Regions from separate parts of the Homo sapiens genome. Here region 2 is linked to region 1. The links are contacts of gene promoters, found by promoter capture Hi-C in blood cells and fetal thymus (Javierre and others, 2016). All regions are on one chromosome and are shown on one strand. The core of a region is centred on a gene start or on the middle of the fragment in contact, and the rest is flanking DNA. Distances in the headings are between cores, read along the strand shown. Region 1 holds the start of DSC1 (desmocollin 1). Region 2 holds the start of DSC3 (desmocollin 3).

Region 1 (7,892 bases), core at 3,925-6,424:
TACATTTGGAATGTGCTCAGCACCTGCTATTCTAAAACGTGGGGGCCATGAAAATTAAATAATTATATTAATGGAGTCACATTTTCCACTACCTTCGTCATACATTAATTTGAGAAATAAAATATTTTCCTAGTGTCACTGATTTTATTCTCTTTTCTTTGAACTCTTAATTATTGTGTGTGTATAAATTTATATATGTGTATACAAACTTGATTTTTTATGTCATAAGTGGTATAACCGTATGATGTCAGTAGGTTTTGAACTTTTTGCAGTAGTTTGATACTTAAAACTATCTTGCCAAAAATAAGAAAACTAAGTGGCTCACACCTGTAATCCCAGCAGTTTGGGAGGCCGAGGTGGGAGGATCACAAGGTCGGGAGTTCTAGATCAGCCTGGCCAATATGGTGAAACTCCATCTCTACTAAAAATACAAAAATTAGCCAAGCATGGTGGCGTGCACCTGTAATTCCAGCGACTCAGGAGGCTTAGTCAGGAGAATTGCTTGAACCTGGGAGGTGAAGGTTGCAGTGAGCAGAGATAGCACCACTGCACTTCAGCCTGGGCAACAGAGCAAGACTTTGTCTCTAAATAAATAAATAAGAAGAAAACCAGTCTATTCTTAAGTAATATTTCCCAGTAATATTGCAAATAATCTTTCTGTAATATCTTTCAAGGTTTAGTAAACCCGATGCGCTGTGGTTATTATCAAATTACCTCCTTTACAGATTCATATTTAACACATTTAGTGTATTTACTATGTGTCTTTAGAGTGTGGACTGTTTATTAATTTCAAACCTTAAAGCACTGGGCAAAACAACATCTGGCTTGGAAAGGATACCATTTCTGTATTGTTTGTAATTTTTTACATGTGAATGCAAAGCCAGTGAAAAACCTTGATGAAAAAAATTTTACGTTTGGGCTCAGAACAACCAACTTATACTTCAGAGATGGCTATGGTACTAAGACCCACCAAAACTGTATTTGATTTTCACAAGCTGTTCTGTGAAATATGTCACATTTATTCTTGGTGGATACTTGTTCATTGTAATCAACCTCAAGTACAAATTTTATTGGGGGCATTTAGATTTTGAGACATCCATTTCATGTCTAATCAATTGAAGAATCTTGGCTTTGAAATTTTGGCAGCAGATTAGTTTATACAAATTAGAATATGCTCCTGGTTTTGGTGCCTTGCTTTGTTTGACGTAATCCAAGATAATTGAGCCTTCTGATGTTTGCTAATTTTTTTGGCAAGAGAAGTATACAACTAACTTTGGTATTTTAATTATTTCTAACCACTACCAAAAAACAAGTAGCCTGTCTTTTATTGTACATCCGATTTTAACTTCAAGTAGCTACTATGTGGTTTTTTTTTTTTTTTTTGAGACAGAGTCTTGCTCTGTCGCCCAGGCCGGACTGCGGACTGCAGTGGCGCAATCTCGGCTCACTGCAAGCTCCGCCTCTTGGGTTCACGCCATTCTCCTGCCTCAGCCTCCCGAGTAGCTGGGACTACAGGCGCCCGCCACCGCGCCCGGCTAATTTTTTGTATTTTTAGTAGAGACGGGGTTTCACCTTGTTAGCCAGGATGGTCTCGATCTCCTGACCTCATGATCCACCCGCCTCGGCCTCCCAAAGTGCTGGGATTACAGGCGTGAGCCACCGCGCCCGGCCTACTATGTGGTTTTTATCCCAAACTTTACAAGAGCAGCCTGCAGCTAAATGTGACAAGTTACAGCTATGAAACTGTTAATAGTGTTTCTCACCTTTGCCTACAAGTGTTTCAGCCTGAAGATGAGAAGGAACTCGAAGATAAACTTTCTGACAAGCATCGCAAAGTAATGTTAAAACCTCAAAAAAAAAAAAAGAAAAAATATCAGGAATTAAATTTGATCACAAATTTTCACATTGTAGCTTTTTCTTATTGATAAAAATATTGTCAATTTTGGAAACAAATTAATCATTTAATTCTTTACATTTTTAATACTCACTTTAAAAGGAACCAGCAAAGAGAATAGCTTTAGGAATAGCACTGTCATTTATTTGTCAATGAAAAAAATTAAGTGAATAGTAGTTCTTAGAACCTAAATCATATTGTGTCAATGCAAGAAAATATTTCACAAACCATTGACTTTATATAGAAGTTATACGTCTCTAAGACCATTCATAAATGCCATTCTGATTTTTAGCATGAAGAAAATACTTACCTTTGAAATGCATAATTACATATATGCCCTAATTCTCTAATCATCATTTTACTATTTGAAGTTATAGTTGATGAAGTCTAGAAAATAGTTAAGGGCTTTTTTAACCTCACAGAAAAATAATGCCCCCAAAAAATCATTGTTCTCAAATCAATTTTGTGACTGACTTGGCCAAAACGCCAAAATCTAAATGATCTCAAATCACATGACTAATCTAAAAAGAAATATATGTCAAAATATGGAGAGTATCCTTCAGATGGGTGAAGATTTTTAATTAAATTCAAGGCCCAGCTATTGTTTTTAAAACCTAGGTAGTTCAAAGACATAGACACTATCTGAAAAAAACAAAAGAAAAGCTATCATTTCAAAAATGTCTATAGGTTCAAAATATATTTTACTTCTTTTTCTTGGCATTTTCTGTTTGTTCCTCTTTATCAAAATAACTGCTTTTTTATTATTTAAATATAAGATAGAGTAGAGCTAGGTTTTCCAGAAACATGTAGGTCAATTTTATGATCAGCTTTCAGCTTTTCTCTGAATTCTAGAGTTACGGGACCCATTACTTGCGAGGAGGAAAGAGAATGGATTAACATCCATATTAAGGATGTGCACTTCTTTTCCAGCTCATCTCAAGTCTACCAGATATACTGTAGCAGTCTAATTAAATAGTTTGTAATTTTACAAAAATCTATGTTAGGCAGAAATCTGGAATTAAAAGGCCACATTTTTATTTAGTCCTAATTTAAAAACCACTTTTTAAAACGTGAGACATTCGTATTTATTTAACTTTTTAAATATGTTCATCCCTAATGCCAAGGAACATAATAAATTATACTTAAAGAACTTTCTAAGCATAGACCATACTGTTAATAGTTGTCTAAGTATACAATGTGGAAACAGCATATTGTAATTAGGCTATGCATAAACACATACATATACATATGTACACATACATATGCATATACCTGTACATATACCTATACCTATATATGTATGTGTATGTGTGTATATATATACACACAGTCATATATTGCTTACATTCTAAGAAATGCAACGTTAGGTGATTTCATCCTTGTGCAGACATCATAGAGTATACTTACATACACTTAGAGGATATAGTCTACTACACACCTGGGTTATACCTACATGGTATACACCATGATTTATATATGTATGCCCCATGGTATGCACCATGGTACAGCCTAGGTGTATAGTATATAGTATAGCTTATTGTAAGCTACAAACCTGTACAGCATGTTCCTCTACTGAATACTGTAGGCAATTGTAAGTATTTGTGTAACTAAACATTTTTAGATATAGAAAAAGTACATTAAAATACAATATAAAAGATAAAAAATGGTTCACCTATACAGACGAGCTCCATTATAATCTATGGGACCACTCATATATGTAGTCCATCATTGACTGAGGCATTGTTTTGCAGAGCATGACTGTATATGTGCGTGTGTGTATATATATATAAATGTACATATATATATATAAATATATGAGACATTCTTATAGTTATATCCACACTTCCACTCCCACCCCCATCTTCTTTCCTTCTTGTCCTAGGATTCCATGTTGATGGTCCTCCCTCTGCAGGCAGAGCCACTGAAGGTTTCCATTCATTAAATACTATTCCCGTCTTCAGGTTAAATCACTGACTAAGTGGCTTAGTGACACCCTTTTAGTCAGTTTCAGAGTCAGAAATAAATAAACAGGAGATGAATTGTCCAAGAGATATTAGACAGTACAGGGATCAGAAGCAAAAGAAATGTGGGTAGAATCCTTTGAAACATTTTTACCACATTTTACCAAACTTGTACTAACTTAAGATGGTATCTGAGTTATCGTCTCCCTAAGCAGTTACAGGATGAGAAGGTGACCATCAACCCTGCATTGTATATTATTTACATGGAGAAAATGTTTGTCCTCATACCTGCCATTTCTAAAAATATATTTTGAAACTCAAGTATTTTGCTAAAATGAAAAAATAGGAAACTCACACCTCAGAAATGATGGACGGATGTGTGAAATAACCCCCCTCTCTTCCCTCACCTCCAAAGAAAAAATAGCACCTTACACAGTTACAAAGCTATTAAAAACCCAAGTGGAAGCCAAGTTGAGGATATTTTCAATGACAGTCACATTTTTGTTATTTTTCTTAAACTATTCTTTGCTTAAACTGCTTCGTGGGTAAAATTCAAAAAGTCCTGGATAATTTGCATGTTCACCCAGAATCCTTTCTCTTTTTTTGCAGCTTAGTAGAACTCAGCATGTTAAATAACATGAGTTTATGTAATCACTGGTAGCAGAAGTAAACCTCAGAAACTTCTGGGCCAAATGCCTAAAGAATGAATTCACTTCTCTACTCTTAGAAAATCACCACAGCAGGATGGAAGAGGGATTCCCTTGAAAACTTTTAACACTCTGGCAGTGGGTGCTTGAGAAGTAAGCTGAACACTTTCCATCCTGAATCCCAAGCCTCTCAACTCTTCCCTGAATCTTCCTCAGATCTGCTTTTGTTTTCCCCAATCTCTCTTCTCTGCCTCCCATCCTCACTCCTAGTCTCTTTCAAGCCCAAACTGCAGAGAGGAAGCAGGTAGTAACATGCTTGAATTCCCTAATCCTTTGGTTGTTACTCACCAGGAGAGAGAAAAGGAGCTGCTTACAGAAGATGCTCCCTGGGGCAGCAGAGGCCAGAGCCATCAGAAGCAGTCCCAATGGCCAGGGACGGTGGCCAGATAACAGGGCAGCCTGGGATGCACAGAGCGGCTAAGAAGACGCTGGCACTTGCACAGGGTATTCTGCTGCCACCTTGATGCAGCTGAGCTTGGTTTGGAAGACAGTCCGGAGGCAAGTGATAAACAGTAGGAGGAGCAACGGGAGAATTTCTTTCCCCCTATTCCCTGGCCAGTCTCCTTCCTTCCAGTTCAATTACGTCTAAATGCAAAGAGGCTTTCCTACAAGTGAGGAGGGTGGGGTACAAAACACCCCAAAACCCAGTCAGTAGCTCCTCCTCACAGCAGCTTTCAAAATTTCTCTTGCCACTTAACACATAGGCAGAAGGAGGAGGGAACACCCTTCATCCTCAGCCCTCCTCCCTTTCCCCCAGGTTGATGCTGTGAAGTCCTCCCCAGTTATTACCCACTCCCACAGCCTCCCCTCCTTCTTGGCCTTATTAACCTGTCTTGCCCTCGGGTACAAACATAAATTGTGCACAAACGCCATGCAAGGAAGTGATGCCTCCTCAACTGCCATTGGCAAATCAGAGGACCTAAGCGTGTGTAATCACACTCATCAGAAGTTATCTCCCATCTAAGCATTTAAGTGTCATCGGTCCTGTAGAACACTGTAGTTCTGCTAGAGAACTGGCATTCCAGTTTAAAGCAGCAACTTCATAAAGGCATGGTATCTACTTCCTGTTATTGACTATTCACTGTGGTTGGTTCTCTAGATGTCACAGGAAACTTATCAGAATGTAAAGACTTCATAAAAGAAAGAGAATAAAGAAATAGCTAGCATATAATCTTTCTTGTGGCTTTCCTTTTGTTGTACAAGATGCCACTGCTTTTTACCTTTATATTTTTTCAAGGACAACTACAATCTTTGAGAGCAAGTCTCTCTAAAATCACTCTATTCACCCTAATTACTTGTACATTACACATAGGATATCCTAGCTTAATAGTACAATCAGGCCATCAAGTGTAGATTTTTTTAAACCCTAATGATTCCTCTAACAAGAGCTTTAGCATCATTATTCCTGTCCCAAATTAGTGAGCTCAGTGATACCAATTGCACTCAATGGCAGTGATGGAAGTTAGGACAGAAGGATAAATATTTTCAAATGTTAAGGTAGAGCCCAACACCCATGCTGCTGAGAAGGGAGGAAAGAAAGGTTTTCTTCAGCTTATTTGACAATGGGAACAATTTCTCCTTGTATGTAGAGACAGAAATAAATGTAACTGCTTCATTAGAATTAGAAGCTAGGAAGATTTGGAAAATGAATGACCCAGGAGAAAAAAAACTAAAAGATATCTTGTAGTATTTTATTGCTAGTGGTATACCCACTAATAAACATATTTTGTGACTGCATTGGAATTTGATTTCTCAATCAGAAAATACAGTCATTTTAATGGAATATTTTTATATCTGGCGTTTTGGGAGAAAAGAATGGGAATATAGAAATAGAAAAATTACTTAGATGTATATGTGTACAGCCAAGTGTAATTCTGTGCATGTTTAAGCATCATCTAAGTATATATTTAGATAGATAGATAGACAGATAAATAGATAGTCATACAGCTTAAATAATTCAAAGACAAATTCTCCAACCCTAGAAAATAGAAACACATTTTTTTCAGCTAATGAAGTTATCATTACCTTTTTCTATAACATGATATTCTCCACTGAACTAGGAAGATATAGAAGAGCAAAATTAAATTGGTGTTACTGAAAAAATGGCATATATTGGTTGGATGAAGAGATTCCAGGCACTGCTCAATTCAAATGAATCCAGAATACTCTCCACAGTTCTGGGAAGTTGATGTTCTGATCCTACTTCTTTTGGCCTACTTTCTGCGTGCTCTCTTTTCCCATTATCTATCTTTCTCAAAGGTAATAGAAAAACTTGTGTAAAAGCTAACCCCAAATTATTGGTTTGCAAATCTGTTACATTACTATTTCTCCCATATTTTGTATTTGCACACAAAGGTTTCCTAAAAATAAAATATAGGCACTTTATAGGAAAAAATAATTTATTATTACAAATTATTGACTCTTCCTTAAACGTGAATCTACCTTAAAATTAAATGAAAACAAGACATATTTCTTCCAATTTTCTGGCATTAGATCATTCAGTAAGAGCTCTGTCTTAGTCTGTTTTCTGCTGCTGTAAAGAAATACCATAGCCTGGGTAATTTATTAAAAAACAAAACAAAACAAAAACAGAAATTTGTTTGGTTCATGGTTCAGGAGCCTGGAAAGTCCAAGAGCATGGCATGGGCATCTGATGAGGGTCATCCCATGATGGAAGGCAGAAGACAGAAGCCAGTGCACAAGACAGACAGGGAAGTGGCCTAACTTATCCAGTTATCAGAAGTCCACTCTGATGATAACTAACCCACTCCCGAGGGTGGGGACTTCATGGCATAATCAACTTTTAAAGGTCCCACCTCCTAACACCATTACAACGGCAACAAAATTTCAACATGACTTTTGGCAGGGACATTCAAACCACTGCAAGCTCTATTTTATTTTTATTTCTATCTGTATGTTTGTTTGTTTTAACCTATGTCTAAATTAATAAGCTTAAGCAAAAGATTGTTAGTGGTTAACAACTTGGACTTAGAAGCTAGACTGCCTGGGTGCAAATCCTCTCTTTACTACTTATTCGCAGTATAACCCCTAGGCAAGTTAGTTAACTCTTCTGTGCCTCGGTCTCTTTATAACATGGGGACAATAATAGTGGCTAATTCATAGGTTGTTATGAAGATTAAATGTGATATTATAAAGAAAATACTTCCAACAGTGTCTGGCTCAGAGCAAGCACTAATATTTTACACCATATAATTGCCTAGGCATGCAATAAAAAGTTGAAGAGACTGAACTTCAAATGAAACAAACACAAAGTTATTGCAAATCCAAGGTCTGTTATGTAGAGGCTACCTAAAGATACATGAATAGGTT
Region 2 (7,892 bases), core at 2,726-5,225, 120 kb before region 1:
GGTTAAGAAATGGAACATTACTAATATTTTCAAAGTTCCTAACTATATAGCAGTAGCTCATTCATTTTCTTTGCTGCATAGGATATTATTAGAAAGAATGTACAGTTAATTCATTAATACAACTTTTGAAAGGGATAATATTCAATAGACTTCAGTTATAGTATGTTTCTTGAAACTATGAAGTCATTTGATATTATGTTTTTGTGAGGTTTGGATGCCTTATTGAAAACAAAATAAAGTAAAAAATGTAAAGACACTAGTATATTAATGATGAACTAATGACCTTTAAAGATATTTTATAATAAAAATAACTTCTGTATACAAGAATGCCCATATTTTAAATTAAAATATAACAAACTTTAAAGATGATAATATAAAGTATTACCTACTGCAGCCTAAGCAAAATAGTTTTGTTGCATTTTATAGTACTAAGCAAATTGTATTAATTGCATGATAGAAACCTTATCAGACGAATCATTAAATCCTGATGGAAAAATTTAATGCCAAAGAGAGAACGAAAATTAAAGGTGTTATCTGCAGTTGTTTCACTTTCATGCTGTTGTTTAATTTTATAGTAAATACACAAAGTAGGCTTTCTAAAATGACACCCTACTTCAGTAGAGAAGAAAAAGAATGGAAATTTATGGAATGTCTTAAATGTGAAGAGGATCTTCTGGATTAAACACAATAATTACAGAATTTTAAACTCTTCATTTCTCCTGTGGCCATAAGTCTTCTGCAGAATGGAAATATTACCTTTCAAATTCTTACCACTTCAAAGGTAAATTGCAAGATTTACTGCTCTACATTCTCAGTACTTAAATGAGTCTAATAAATTTGTTTCCACCCAAACTCATTGTAAGATGGGAATTCCAGCTATCATACTTTCAGCGGAAAGTATGATTAACTACAGGTCACCACAGATACCATATATGGTACAGGACTGCCATGGGAATTACAACAGGATCCAAAAATGTGCATGAGCTTACATTTATTTATTCAGAACGTGCTTCCGTATCTAGCTGTATCTCAACAGGAACATCAACAATCTCCTTTTAATAAGGTAGCTGATAATGCATCAATCTAAATATACGTATACTATAATTTTGACTTTTTTAAGCTTGCAGTTTTAAAACTAGTTTTCATCTACTTCCTTTATTTGCCTTAATCTTCTTGTCACAAATGTAAAAGCCTTTAGAAATTACTATACTCCCTTTTAATTTAAAATGATGAATATATCAAATATTACCAAGAGCAAAAACATCACAAGTTTTTCTGGTAAGGACTCACATTATTCACATTAACCCTAACAAATATAAAAATTTGGATGCCTATTTATCAACATAGGTTGCAGGCAGAGTTCATATACTCCAAAGAGGAAAAGTACAGATTTGAGGGGAGTTATTGCAAACGTTTCAACTATTTTAGTTCCTTTAGAAGAGGAGCCCTTTTAACAAAATGATGGATTAGCCGTGTCCAAGTATGTGCCATTTATAATGTATACTAGATAACATAATCTTAAAGTGGATTTGATAACAGTATTAACACATATTTTTAAAAGAATCTTATTATTTGTAACAGGCAGAAGACAACTGATCTCATGTAAATTAGTTTCCACCATCCCTAACAATTCTGGTTACATTAAGAGGAAAAAACACTTTCTGAGGCAATCAAAAACTTACAATAGTGAGTGAGATGCTCTGATATACTTCTTTTTTTAGTATCTCCCTGTCATTTTTTTCTTTGTGCGTGTGATTATTAGAAACTGTATTTACACTTCAGAGTGTGGTGGGGCACACGGTGGGAAGGAGATACAGGAAAAATGCAGAATGGGAAAATTCCCTCAACCTGTTGGGCTGCTTACTGGGAAGACTAAAATTTAACAAGTCTCAGATTCTTGTTAAAGACTTGCTTTGAAAAGCTGTCTCCTTAGAACAAACAATGTTTTAAAGATAAGTAATGGTTTAAAGATATCCATTAAAGTCTCTATAAAATGAAAAATGTTTCTAAAATGCCGTGTCATTAATATTATATTGAAAAGTTGAGAGTCGTATGAGTCAAAAGGAAGGAAATACATACATGAGATGGTCAAGAGAAGTGTTAATTTACCCATCCGGTCCGAAATTGCAAGTGTTTGTAAACTGACAATTGCAGATGAAATAGTCATTTTCTGTGCACTTTCCGGTATTTAAGTCTCCAGATACAGCATTTAACCTAAACTCAACGGAATTATTTTAAAAAAAAAAAATCTTAAACGAGTATGTGCTAGATCAAAGCTGAAGCTTCCTCCGTTTAGATTTACGCGCACCTTCTTCCTTGCCACAGCTCGACACCCCCACCCATGCCTTGCCGGGAAAGCTCCTGGTCTTCCATGGCCTCTGGGAGCCTCGAGCGAATGCGAGAAATTCTGAGAGCAGCACCCGTAGTTTCGTTCCCCATCCTCAATCCCTTCGCAAAGGAAACACAAAACCCCAAATGCATGCTTGTAAACTGAAAAGCTGAAAATGCTTTTAAATATATTACAAAAGAACACATTCTCTAAGCCGTTTCCATTTGTAGTCACTTCATAAGCTCAGATACTTTGTTGGAACAGTTCCCGGGCAAATGGATGCGCTTATTTGTCCAATTCCTTCTCCATAAACATATCGTAGATCATAACTACCAATCCCATATTCATACCTCGCTGACCTTAAGGGAGGACAACCCTTGGACCCACTCCCACTTGCCAGGGTGGAGGGCCAGGAAGCAGTAAGAATCCGCGAGACCAGACTCGGCTCACTGCCGACGCGGGTATAGACCTCGCTCCCATCGGACCCCATGCGCATCCATGGATGCGGGTAAGTCGCGGGTCCGCGGCTCCTTTCTGGGCGTGCGGAATGAAACTCTGTTGAAGCCTGAAGCTTCGCGTGTAACCGCGCCGCCAGAGTTCCGAACACTTCAAGTCTCCCGTGTTCTCAGAGCATCGTCTCTAACTTCCTCTCCTAGAGGATTTCGTCCTGGGCGGCAGGTTTCCGTAGACTCGAAACCCCAGGCTGTGCTCCGGCCGCGCAGTCCTCCCCGGAGCCGGAGTAAGTACGACGCAACCCCACCGCATCCATCATCCCCCACCACTGTCACCCTCTACCCGCCTCCACACCTCGGCAGCATCCCCAAAACACAACACGACCCCAACCCCCATTCTGGCCCGGTCTTCCCACACTTTCGCGCCCCCGGCACATCCCGCCCCCAGCTGGGTGGCTGGCGGGGGTGGACCGCTTGGGTGAGCTTCTGAATACCCTTTAGGGGAGATACCGAGAAACCCACTTCTCAGGGGCAGCCCCACCAAGGGACCCAGGGACACAGCCCCGGCTCCACTCACTAACGAACCAATCCGGGTCAACTGCGACCCAGAGCTGGGGAGGGGGCAGCCCCTAAATCCCTTTTCAAGTCTGTGCTTTGAGCTCTCAGGGATCCTCTCCACCCAAAGGCGCCCTCCAACCACCATCACCACCAGCTCCACCACCTGGGGAGAAGCGTGAATCCCAACCCCCTGCCCAACCCGCGACGGCGCCCGCCAGAGCGCAGCGAAGCCTGAGCGCGACTCAGAATTCCAACAATCGAACACCTTGTCTCAAAACAAAAAGCTCAGTCCAGAGTCGACCCGCAAACACACGTTTTCTCTCCTCACTCCTGCAGGCCCGAACTTGGGGCTGCTACCAGACCCGCAGCATTGATCTGAGCCGCGGTTGTCACGTTTCGGCCCGCTTTGTCCCCAGCTCCGTGCAGCGTCCAGGGCGGATCCACCCCCGTCCCCACCCCAGCCCTATCCGGCGAGATCTGGCTTACCACGAGGGTCAGCAGCAGATGCAGGCAGACGGCTCCGCGCACGGAGCGCCGGGGCCCAGCGGCGGCCATCGGGATGCCGGGCAGGGCCAGGAGAACGCGGGCGCCGGGAGGGTGCCGAGAGCGAGACCTGCCGAGGTGCAGGGCGCGGGAGGTGCTTTTCTCGCCGCTGCTTGTTTTTAAGTGTATTTGGCCTCTCTCAGGCTTGCCTGCCCGGGAGCAACTTCACTTCTGAAACCGGATTGGACCCAGAGGACGCGGAGAGGCCACTCCTTGTTATTTCTCAAGTTTTATCATCGCCGGCGCGGCTGAGGAGCTGCCCGAGCCTGCCCCTCTGCTCCCCAGCAGCCACCCGGGCGTTCGCGCTCGGGAAAGCGGTCTCTGGCGCACCCTCTGCCAGTTCTCCCACGCCCCTCGGCTGCCCCGCGGCGCTGCCGCCCCGCCCGGCCCGCAGAGAGGCCCTGGCAGCCCAGATCGTCCCAGGGCGGCCCCATCGCCGGCGCTGCGCGGTGCATCTCAATGCAGAACCCCAATCCGCCCGCAGGGATCCCTGCCTCGACACGGGCTCTGCTGGATGCCAGGAACACCCTTGTCATTGGATCAGCGGATCTCCCCTTCGACGTCTGAACAAATTCTGCCAATGTTTTCAGATTAAAGCAAAATACATGTACTGTATTCTCTCCGGATTTGACTAACATGACAAAATACACGACAGAAGGAATTTATCCCAGATGGCATGATAAACAGTTTTTGGCATGTCAGAAATTAAAACCAAATTTAAGAAATTCTAATCTAACCATTTTTACGCACCCAAAATATGAGTGATTACACTCAGCGCTCTATTAACTGTCAGTTTGGGGGACTCATATGAACCTTCTAAAAACGACTTTGTTCTTAGATGTGAATTATTGGTTTACTACTTACTGGTACCAAAATGAAATTTTTCAGGTGGTCAAAGGAATATCTACCACACAAAACCTTCTAAAACGAGGCTTACAGATTCTACATCATGCAACGACTATTTATCAGGGCCCGAAGTCGGCCAAGCTTTGTGTGAGGGCATGGAAGAAAGGAAATGCAGAAAATCTAGTTCCTGTCGGAAATAATTCAAAGTCAGAAAGGGACGAAAGACAATCATTCCTAGCCCAGTAGGCTACACTTTTTAATAGAGATGTCGTTTGTAACACCAGGGGGACATCCTCTTATTTCTCCCTAAACTGAATTTTAAGTTCCCCGAGTTCCCATCTACTGGATTCAGGAGGAAATCCCTCTCAGACATGAGATGCTACTCCTCGAAGTCCATTCAAAAGTTGCAAGGTCGGGAATTTCAGACAGCCAATTAATCATGAAAGGGTGTTATGACCTTCATTCATCTCACTCTGGCTCAAGTCTAATAGACTCCTCGTCGTCTAAGCCATGTATTCCCTGAAGTCTGGGGCTTCCCTGAAACTCATGAGGCTCAGCTTTAAGGGCTCAGACACTCTAAGTTGAGCTTCCCAGTGTGAATCTCCCAGGCACCCGTCAGTGGAGGTCTCTGTATGTAAGAGCTCTTCCAGTCTCAGAGAAAGTTCTCCAAACTTCTCTCCACTCCAGGGTTTTCACCTCCCATCCTCCACGTGCCTCCAGCATGACCTCAGAGAAAGCTTCTCAAAGTCACTTCCAGCCCCCCAGCCCTCAGAAACTCAAGTAGAATGGTTTTCTTGAACTTAGATGAGTAAAGGAGATGGCTAGCACCAATCTCCCTCCCTCACCACTTTGAATTCACTGTTAGAGTGAAGGGTTGAGGTGTTAAGGCATTTTAGAGGAGAGGATCTAACTTAGCTGAAGAAAGCTTTGAAGAAGCAAAATGTTGCGATAAGCCCAGCAAAGAAAAGGGAAAGGGTAGGAGAATGCTTCAAGATAACACAACATCAACAGGACATGAGAAGCTCTGGAGAGCCTTGTGAGAGTGCCCCAGGGTAAGAAAGCAGAAAGGGGTTGGTTCAGAATGGTTACATGCAATGGCTGGGAATTCGGTTAGAAAGATGGTTCATGACAAACCATGCTGAGGAATTTAATTTCATCCTGACAGAAATGGAGAACCATCCATTCAATGTGTGAAAAGGGTTAGTAACTACTGTTACAAAATTGTCACTTTTGGTGAGTTTGCACATATGAACCCATTTGTGCTGTAATATGGCTTTCTTTAATACCTAGGGAATGAAAGACTTTGAAGTGTTTGTCTTTATTCTAACTATTCTTAGTTTTTCTATGATTTCAACTCTATCTTCAGATTTATGAGAGTCTGGCCTGGTTAGGACTGTCCTTTGAAAGACTAAAACTCTAAAATTGCTATCCCCTGATTATTTTGACTGTGCTGTGTAATAGAGGATATTTATTGTTAAGCCTACTGACTAATATGACAATTGCTGTGAGCTTCCATTTTTAGCTTCCGCAAAATAAAAGTTGTAGGAATCTGCTTTAGAAAAACTCGAAGAAAACATATTATGGATATTTTTAACTTGTATTGCAAAATTCTAGGTGCAATACGAACATTAATAACTGAATGTAGTATTAGTAATGATTTTGGAATTTCCTGTTTGTCCACCATGAGTATATTAATCTAAGTCCTAATAAAAAGCAATGCATTTTTATCATATAAAGAAGAATCTTTACAACATAAATATGACTTGAGGATAAATTAAATTGCTTATATTTTTTGCTTATATTTTCCCATATAAATTATGATTTAAAATAGTTTGTTGATTTTTTTTCAAATATGAGCTTCAGTTTAGATATAGTTAGAACTGGATGCTTTCTATTATAAAATTAATTTTAAATCATCATGAGGTATCATAAAGCATAAAGAGTTTTCTGAACTGTCTTTATCTTAATACCCTATCCCTCAAACTGCAAAGTCAGTTGGAAGTCACTGCTAAAAGGATAATGAGCCAAAATGGGAAAATAATTTATTATTTTCCCTTGTTATGTTCTTAGTTTGAAGGGTAAGAGCAGCAATAACAAAGGATCAAAAATGGGAATTGACTTTAGACTAAAGAACAAAACTTCAGAAATTCAGGTGAATTGCAACATTTTCAGCAGAAAGCAAACAAGATAATGAAGAAGAGTACTCTTACTCTGGACCTATGAGAAATCTCTGACTACGGAAGAGCTAACTAGTCTTAGGAGGTGGGACCTGACCTCTGGCCCACGAGCCAGGCTGCCTTGCACAACTCAGCACCAACAGGTGCTAGTCTAACACACCTACTCATCTCAGTGGCTTACCTGGACGGTGACATGGCAACTGTAGGTTTCCTCAAACACTCCTACGAAATACCGCCAGGACAACTGTACAATGTTTGAGACAAACTTACGAGAAAGAGCAGAGGAATTTATGAAAAAAAAAGCTTGAATTAAAAACAAGTAAAAGATTTGTTTACACCTGTGGCACAAAAATGAGTTCCGCCATGGGACATGAACTCAGAAGCATGTTTGGAATATTATTTAGGATAAATAGCCGCAGTGTGACTAGAGGTTCTGCAGATTTCCCAGAGCACTATTGAGAACAGCCACCACATTTTGGTCATTTCAAAAGACTGCTGGGGCCTTGAGGATAACAGAAGGTTTAAGTCAAAAGTCAATTATAAATATCGCATTGCTGCCCACTACCAGAGCCGTCCCAGAATCCCTATGTGCCTCCTTCTCACCTATTTACCCATGGCAAGCACCTAATTAGCACTTGGTGCTAATTTCAATCCAATGAGAATGCTACTCCACACAGCAATGAGGACCTCAACTCTAGATCCAAATGACCCTTGGCCTCCAAGGACATTTCCCCTTCCCCCTGTTCTGCTGTGGGTCTCCTCACGTCCTCACTTCTCATCCTAGGATTCATATCTCCCCAGAATGACTGACAGTAGGACTATCCCTTCCTCTCAGGAGAAAGCTCACGCCCATCCACAGAAATGTGACCTTTCACTATAACCTTGGCAACAATCATTCAAAAGTCGGACATTTGTACATTTCTCAAATTCAGCATTATCCAGTCTAAGTAACACTATTACAATAGTTTAATCCAAATAGGGTGTGCC

The links. The method cuts DNA at HindIII sites, captures the fragments that hold promoters and counts their contacts. A CHiCAGO score of 5 or more calls a contact.
Region 2: a contact is called between the fragment with the promoter of DSC3 here and the fragment with the promoter of DSC1 in region 1, in 1 of 17 cell types (neutrophils). The highest score is 6.4, in neutrophils.

What each region holds. Positions count from the first base shown.
Region 1 is chr18:31,157,682-31,165,573 of GRCh38, forward strand. DSC1 (desmocollin 1) reads right to left here and starts at 5,175. Exons shown (of 16, transcript NM_024421.2): 1 at 4,851-5,175; 2 at 1,764-1,848. The coding sequence starts at 4,913. DSCAS (DSC1/DSC2 antisense RNA) reads left to right here. Exons shown (of 4, transcript NR_110785.1): 4 at 4,854-5,108. The HindIII fragment of the contact is 8,252 bases long and covers 1-7,511 here.
Region 2 is chr18:31,038,767-31,046,658 of GRCh38, forward strand. DSC3 (desmocollin 3) reads right to left here and starts at 3,976. Exons shown (of 16, transcript NM_001941.5): 1 at 3,826-3,976. The coding sequence starts at 3,894. It overlaps LOC124904345 (a long non-coding RNA gene), which reads left to right and starts at 2,767. Exons shown (of 2, transcript XR_007066445.1): 1 at 2,767-3,068; 2 at 3,676-6,460. The HindIII fragment of the contact is 1,969 bases long and covers 2,899-4,867 here.